Regions from separate parts of the Homo sapiens genome. Here all the other regions are linked to region 1. The links are contacts of gene promoters, found by promoter capture Hi-C in blood cells and fetal thymus (Javierre and others, 2016). All regions are on one chromosome and are shown on one strand. Each heading gives the region's core, a stretch centred on a gene start or on the middle of the fragment in contact. The rest is flanking DNA. Distances are from core to core; before and after follow the strand shown. Region 1 holds the start of GSK3A (glycogen synthase kinase 3 alpha). Region 2 overlaps CXCL17 (C-X-C motif chemokine ligand 17). Region 3 overlaps POU2F2 (POU class 2 homeobox 2).

Region 1 (2,534 bases), core at 13-2,512:
AGATAACCCTACATCACTTTTTTTTTTCAGAGCCAATGACACCATACCTTAGAACAATTATTAAAAAAGTATAACCTTAGATCCATATTCTGTAGGAAACTGTGACCTACCCTGCTCCATTCCATTTTTGTTAAAGGAGACACACCAAGCCATGTATTTTAAAACATGGACTATGGACTTGGTTTGAAGGATATGCTGACTCCCAATGTCTTTATATCTAAAAGGCAGTAACTATTAATTCTCACCATTGGCAGTACAGCTCAACAAGATTTAGGGTGGGTAATGATGCCAGGTCTTGGTTTTAATAGGGAAGATGATCTGAGTACCAGGTTTGGAAAGCCTGGCCCTATTCTTTGGGGACAAAACACAGTAACCTCAAAGCCCTGCTTCTAAGTGATATTCGCTCCAAATCCCCATCTTCTGAAGGACAGGGAATGCAGATCCCTCTTTTTCGGGGTTGGTCTTATTCTTGTTCTCTTAGGAGACAATAACCCTAGATCCCCATTTGCAAGCGACTGTGACCTCTGATCCAATATTATAATGAATAGCAACATCAGATACCTGTTCTTAAGGCTCAAGGACCCAAGACCTCAATAATGGAAGAACAGAGACTTGTAACCCGTTTCTTTAAGTGTTAGTAATTCTGATCCACGAGTAATTCTGATCTCCAAGAGATGGTAACCCCAAGACTCCTTTTCCTGGGAGGAAGAGGGCTCGGATCCCCGGTATGGGGAGGCACAGTGACCTCGAGCTCCTATCTAAGCACATGAAAGAATCTGATGGATGTCTGAGGAGCTTTGGGAACCCTAATCACCACCCTACACGGGCGCCACTAGTACTCACGGCCCAGCTTCACCCCGGGCGGCGGGAAGCTAGTGCCTGCGCCGGGGCCTCCGCTGCCTCCTCCGCCGCTGCCGCCGGGTCCACCCCCGGAGCTCGAGGCCCCGACGCCCCCACCCATGGCCCCGACAGATGCCTTTCCGCCGCCGGTGCCGCCTGGGCCGGAGGCCGAGCCTCCGGGGCCGCCGCCGCCTCCTCCGCCTCCGCCGCCGGGCTCCGCGAACGAGCTAGTCCGCGCCCTGCCCGAGCCCCCAGGGCCGCCTCCCGAAGGCCCGCCGCCGCTCATGGCGCCGAGCACAGGCCCAGGCTGCGGGGCTCGGGCTGCCCGGGCTGCCCCAGCCGCCGCCGCTGCCGCCGCCTCCCCCGGGCCCTGGCCTCTTCCAGGCCGCGCCGCTCTGGCTTGGGCTCCGGCTCCGGCCCAGCGCCCGCCGCGGGGCACGCCGGGAGATGCAGTCCGGCTGTCGTCCGCGCCGCCGTCACCGCCCTCGGCCCGCACAGAGAGCCGCGTGGCACGCCGGGAAATGAAGTCCACAAAAGCCTCAGAGTAGACCGCGGGAATGATGGGCGGGAATGACGGGTCACGCTGTACGTCGGGAAATGGAGTCCAGGGTAATCTGTCAGCCGACTGTACGACGGGGAGCCCTGAAGCACTTTAGGAAGCAGAGAGCCTGATGCACGCTGGGAAACGGAGTCCACTCACTCAGTCTATTAGCTGTGTATGCCTCCCAGAGCTCGGTGCGCTCTGGGAAATTGAGTCGGCCCGCGTGAACCTGCGGGTCTCGGGCCGTGAGGCAAGCCGGGAAATGGAGTCGTCGCCACGCCCTCACCGCATTGCAGGTGTAAAGCGATTTTTAAAGCACGCCGGGAAATGGAGTCTCAGGTGGTTTTTAAGCCCCAGGTGGATACTGCAGTTCCGGAGATGGGCGAGGAAATGGAGTAGGTTTACGCGCTCCTCTTTCCAGGTACGCTGGGCCGCAGTCCCTGCCGGGAAGTGTAGTCAGCACCAAGGCCTCAGTGCAGTTGCCACAGCGAGCCCTGGTGTGTTCTGGGAAATGGAGTTCGACGTATCCTCCCCATTGACTGAGGGGGCGGGATCGCCCATGAGCTCCAAGCATGCTGGGGAATAGTCCAGACCTGACCCTCTGTGAGGCCAGTCTGCGGAGGCTTGCCGGGAAGCGAAGTCCAATGGCCACCATCAGGGGCGTGTGAACGAAAGGTTAGAGACTGCGGCAGTTCCCTGGAGAGACTTAAAAGTGTTTCAGCGCCTCCTTCCTCGCCCCCAGGTCCTTCTTTAAGAAAGAGCCGAGGTCGATCAAGGACTGCTGGAAAATGGATCCAAGCACCTTTAAGTTCCAGGTGACCATAGATCAGGAAAGAAAAAATGTCCCCTCTCTAACCGCAACTCTGCAAAGATTCGGGAAACAAAGTTCCCGGCGGTTTCTCAGAACACTAACTAGTCTTCGGATACAGTCTAGCTTTTCCTAGCAATGTGGTTCGCACCAGGAAGCTGAATGGAGCATTAAAAAGACGGAAATGTCATTTCTGGGCCTGGCGCTGTGGCTCAGGCTGGGCGCCAGTAGCTCACGCCTGTAATCCTAGCACTTTGGGAGGCCGAGGCTGGCGGATCATCCGAGGTCAGGAGTTCGAGACCAGCCTGGCCAACATAGCGAAACCCCCGTCTCTACTAAAAGTAC
Region 2 (2,534 bases), core at 12-2,511, 200 kb after region 1:
TAACATGACAAAACCCCGTCTCTACTAAAAATACAAAAATTAGCTGGGTGTGGTGGTGTCTGCCTGTAGTCCCAGCTACTCAGGAGGCTGAGGTGGGAGGATCGCTTGAGCCCAGAAGGTGGAGGCGGCAGTGAGCCAAGATCACACCACTGCACTCCAGCCTAGGCAACAGAGCAAGACTCTATCTCAAAAAAAAAAAAAAAAAAAAAGAAAAAGAAAAAGGAATAACTCTTTCTTATGGCAGAATTCCGATTAAATAAATGTAGAAGGAACAATGGAAGTAGAAAATCACTATTTGGCCAACACCACAGTAATAATTCTTTATAGGAAACAATCATCCATAGATTCTAAAAGTTAATATTAAAAGTATGATGATGCCATAACTGGTGAATAACAAGAAAAAAAAAAGTATGATGAGAAGAAACAGGCTATTTACATATTTCCAAAGTGTCTCTCCACAAGATACTTATTAATTACAATAAGATGAATAGTAACTTTACAGTAGAGAAACCTGGCAGACACCACCTGAACCAAGTGCTTAAAGTGAACCTCATCAGTAATGAGAGATATCGACATCCTGGGGCTCTTGCTGGGATGTCCAGAGAAGGATACATCACTTCTGAAGTATTCTTGCCCAAAATGTGTAGCCGGAAATATCAGACAAACCCATATTCAGGGGGCATTCTACAAAACAACTGGCTAGAACTCTTCAAAAGTGTCAAGGTCCTGAAAGAGAGGGAAAGACTGAGAAACTATCCCAGGTTGGAGGAGACCTAGGAGATCTGACATTTTATTCAGTGGGATCCCAGATTGGAGTCTGGAGCAGAAAAAGGACATGAGTGGGATGATTAGCAAGATTTGAACATTTGTAGATTAGTTAATATTATGGTATCAGTGCTAATCTCCTGGTTTTGATAATTGTATTATGGTTACATAAGATATTGTTTGAAAACAATTGGATGAAGGCTGTACTGGAACTCTATTTTTACAATATTTTTCAAAGTCTGAAAAATGAAAAGTAAGAAAAAGTAAGAAATGCATTAGATTTGTGAGGACAAATGAGATAGTAAGTGTGAAGTGATTAGAACAATGCTTGTGATATAGGAGTTCTTAATGTGTCTGATATTATAAGTAATTTTATAATTAAATAATATTATAATTAATGAATAATCTGTTATTTTAAGTAATTTATTTCCTAATGACCTCATATATTCTCACTTATTTCTATTTCCCTTAACCCTGTGAAAAGCATATTGAGCATGTATGTGATTAAGAGATAAAATAAGATTAGACTTTATTCTGAGATTTATTTTGGGGATGGAGGAGCTATTATTTCCTTTAGCCACTAAGTAGCTCAGACTCAGGCCTGCACTGCAAAACTTTGCTTGGCTGGGAAACAAGATTTGAGCCCGGCCGCCACCCACTCGACGTGGTTTGTGATGGCGCCCCCTGGTGGCGCAGGGAGCTTTCCCCAGTTCCTCACCCTCGTGCTTTAGGAGCGACTTAGAAACTACTCAGTCCATTTATTAAACCCTTTCTAGGACACGCTGCGGATCATTTAATCTTCACAAGTGTGTGTGACAAGTGGTATTTTCTTCATTTTAAGATGATAAAACTGAAACTCAAAAAAGTGAGGCGACTTGTCTAGGGTTGCAAAGTGTGTGGCAGAGCCAGGATCTAGGTCCCCCTGACTTCCAAGCTGAGTGTAAAGGTCTAGGTGAGTCTAAAAGTGTGGCCATGCAGAGAAGTATTGGTGTAGAGCAGTGGTTGTTGACCAAGGGTGGTTCCCCCTCCGGGGTCATTTGGCGATGTCTAGAGATATTTTTGGCTGCCATAACAGGGGTTTGGATGAGGGAGAGGGGAGGCTGCTATTGGCATGTAGGGGAGAGAGGCCACGCGGATGCTGCTGAACATCTCACAATACACAGAACAGCCCCCACCGCAAGGAACTGTTCAGCCCAAATGTCAGTAGAGCTGCTATGAAGCCCTGGTTTGATTTAGCAACCTGAGGATGCATTCTTGCAGTTAGCTAATGTTTGCTGAGTACTGAGCTGGATAGCGTGAGGGATATGGAAACAGTGCACCAGTCTGTGTCACCAAGTAGTTTGCAGCCTAGAAGGACAGGGGGTGGGGGCAGGAAAGGCACATGAAGGCCCTCAATATAAGGCAGCAGATGATAAGTGCAAGAAGAGAGTGTCCAGCAGGGCTAAGCCAGCGCTCAGGAGGGAGACCACATGTCTGGCTGTGGGAGGAACTGAAGGAAGCTGTGGGAAGGTGGTTTTGAGCTGGGTGTGTGAGCAAAGTTGAACTGGTGGAAAAACACAATACCTGTTCAGGGAAGGGCAAACAGGTTAGTTTGGTTGGAGAAATAGTATTTTTAGTGAGTAGAGGGAGGTACACTAGAAAGGCAGGTTGGGGCTACAGCTTTGAATCCAGGCAGAGGACTCTAGCCTGGGTGTCTGTCATAGTGATGGAAAAGTCTTCCCTTTCAGAACAGTGGTCTAGGCCCTAGGGCTATGGGGCTTAACAGCTTC
Region 3 (2,534 bases), core at 27-2,526, 150 kb before region 1:
AGGGACTTGTGAGAGCTAGAACTTGGCAAAATGGCCTAGCCCACCCTTCAAAGGGGAAAAGAGGGAGGAACAGGGGATGAAAAGTTGTCCGCAGGCCTTCCCTTGAACTCTCCCCTGCTGGGGGGAGGGAGGAGGTTAAAGCAAGACCCCCTGCCCAGGTGGGGAGAGCTGGGGGCCAGGGGAGAAGGGGACACATGGTAGGGACACATTCTGTTGAGCACAATGCTAAAAATTCTGTACATCCTTTGGATGAAGCTACTGAATATTTGGTGTAAGGTTGTTCAGGCCCTTTCTCTTTCACCTTCTGGAAAAGAACATTTGGTGGGTGGTGCTAAGCCCCAGCCCATCTGCCCAGGCTGTGCCCTGTCTTCGCTGGCCCAGGGCTGGGGGCTGGGATTAGGAAGCTGGCATCTTCTCTTTTTCCTTCTGTAGCCCCCACGGGGGAGGCAGGGTTGGGGGTTGGTCCCACAGCCAGGGCTCGGTGGCATGAGGTCTGACCTGCTGGAGGCTTCTCCGCCCCTGGCTGGGGTTTTTATTTGGCGTCGTAGCAGTGAGGGTGAGCACGCTGAGGTCTGGCTCGCGACTGGTTTTTTGGTTTGTTTGATTTTGTGGGTTTTTTTTTTTTTTGGTTTGTTTTTGGTTTTTTTTTGTTTGTTTTTCACCTCTGGTTCCTTTGGGGCAGCTGGTTTCTGTTGTGATTATTTTTGGTTTTCTCTTTTGTTGGTTAGTTTCTTTCCTTTTTTTTTTTTTTTTTGGTTGGTTGTTTTTTTGGTCTTTCCTCCCTTGTCACTCCTGCTCTGAGGACCCTCTGCGTCCCCACCACTGGCCTCCTCGCCCTCTTCCCAGGCAAGGGACCAAGGCAGGGACCAGAGGAATGGGAGGGGAGGCATGGCTGGCCCTCACTCAGGTTTGGACCCTGCCTCGGGCCCCCCTGGACCTCCAGGGGTCTGTGCTGCCGTCTCGCTGCAAGTGGAGGAGGAGGAGGATGAGGATGAAGAGGATGAGGAGGAGAGGCCAGGAGACTTGCTGGAGATGGAGGCTGCCACAGCCGCAGCCGCTGCTGAGACCAGGCCCACACCAGGCGGGGTGCTGAGCAGGGGCAGCCCAGCATGATTCAAGAAGAGCGGCGAGGTCACCAGGCCAGGGCTCCCCGGGGCTGCACCGGCTGCCCCCAGCACCAGATTCCCGCTGCCATCAAGGCTGGTAAGGGGCAGGGTTCCACCAGAGGCCAGGGCTGGCGGGGAGAGAGAGAGGCTGGGCTAAGGGCATGCCGGGCCAGGGGAGACCTTTGCCTTCCAGCATCCTGCCCAGAGTGCCCCCCATCTCCCCATCGGTCCCACTGACCCCCATCAGCACCCCTCACACCTTCCCCAAAGGTGAGATGGGTATGAAGAGGCAAGCAATGCAGTGAGCAGGGGCAGGATGGCATGGCTGGAGCAGCAATGGCAGGGCTCGAGGCCCCAGAGGATAGGGCTGGTGACGATGGGTGTGACATGAGGCAGCACGCACCTTGGATAGTGGCCAAAGGGTTGTTGCTCATGAGGGCTGGACTCAGCCCGGAGCTCAACCCCACCATTGTGCTTCTGCAAGAGGCAAAGCAGAGGCATTAGCAGGGGCAGGGACCTGCCAACATAACTGGGGTGCCGCTCCCCACCCTAGAAGCAGCAGCGACCCTGCTTCTCCCCACAGCTTCCCACGTGCACCCACTTACCCCGTGCTGGGGTTCAGGCCTGACAAGCCGATAGCCGAGTGGCTGCCTTGAGGGCTGGGGTTTGTGCTGTTGGTGGTGGCCGGGGGTGGGGGAGTGACAGAGGGGATGGAATTGAGGGGGGGCGCAGCCCCGCCCCCGCCCCCACCCCCTCCAGCTGTCCGGCTGGGGTGGAGCGTCCCCACAGCTGAGGATAAGGTAGTAACTGCCAGAGAGAGACAGAAAGATGGGGTCTTCAGCTTCCACTCGTCCCCCACTGAGGAACCTGGGGTCAGCTCCTACTTGTCCTCCCGCCCAGCTCACGCAGCATCTCCTCAGTCAGAACAGCCTTAGACCTCCCTGCCCTCTCTTCCCAGAGTCATTTCCCTGTGCCTCTGCCATGGTGACCCCTGTCATAACAATGGAAGTCAGAGCAGGTGCTTCCTGCTGAGCCCTGGCACTCTACACTCCCTGCCCTGAACCACTTTTTTACCGACTAGAAACGGGGGTGCCCAGGAGACAAAGCCCTATGGCTCCCTCTAGGGGCTGGGGAGGGGCGAAGGGTGCCAGGCACACTGCCACATCTGAGGGATGGGCAACCTGGCAGGGGCTGAGGGCCCAGACTCAGCCAGACTGCTGGGGTAGAAACTCCTGGCTCTGTCTCATCCCAGTGGTGCCCTTGGGTGAGTGCCTTAACCTCTCTGACCTTCAGATCCCTTGTCTGGAAAATGGGGATAATAATAGACCCTATCTCATAAAATGAGTTTGAGAATTAAGTCAGTCAATGCAGTTTAGAAAGAGTTTAGTACAGTGCCAGGCAAGCACTTACTACTTTATAAATCTCCAC

What was found. Contacts are between HindIII fragments. The CHiCAGO score rates a contact against its expected background, and 5 or more counts as called.
Region 2: a contact is called between a fragment that was not itself captured here and the fragment with the promoter of GSK3A in region 1, in 3 of 17 cell types (neutrophils, naive CD4 T cells and M2 macrophages). The highest score is 8.7, in neutrophils.
Region 3: a contact is called between a fragment that was not itself captured here and the fragment with the promoter of GSK3A in region 1, in 5 of 17 cell types (total B cells, monocytes, activated CD4 T cells and 2 more). The highest score is 8.7, in total B cells.

What each region holds. Positions count from the first base shown.
Region 1 is chr19:42,241,340-42,243,873 of GRCh38, forward strand. It overlaps GSK3A (glycogen synthase kinase 3 alpha), which reads right to left and starts at 1,263. Exons shown (of 11, transcript NM_019884.3): 1 at 844-1,263. The coding sequence starts at 1,126. RefSeq lists silencers at 805-1,084, 1,115-1,324 and enhancers at 1,615-1,824, 1,754-2,534, 1,885-1,934. The HindIII fragment of the contact is 12,371 bases long and covers 1-2,534 here.
Region 2 is chr19:42,439,066-42,441,599 of GRCh38, forward strand. All of the region lies in intron 1 of CXCL17 (C-X-C motif chemokine ligand 17), which reads right to left. All of the region lies in intron 1 of LIPE-AS1 (LIPE antisense RNA 1), which reads left to right. Among named protein-coding and RNA genes, the nearest start is that of CXCL17, 2.6 kb to the right of the region's middle. RefSeq lists a silencer at 1,310-1,399. The HindIII fragment of the contact is 3,145 bases long and covers 1-2,534 here.
Region 3 is chr19:42,090,358-42,092,891 of GRCh38, forward strand. It overlaps POU2F2 (POU class 2 homeobox 2), which reads right to left. Exons shown (of 15, transcript NM_001394376.1): 13 at 1,712-1,913; 14 at 1,510-1,583; 15 at 1-1,234. The coding sequence ends at 900. Among named protein-coding and RNA genes, the nearest start is that of ZNF574, 15 kb to the left of the region's middle. The HindIII fragment of the contact is 4,433 bases long and covers 1-2,534 here.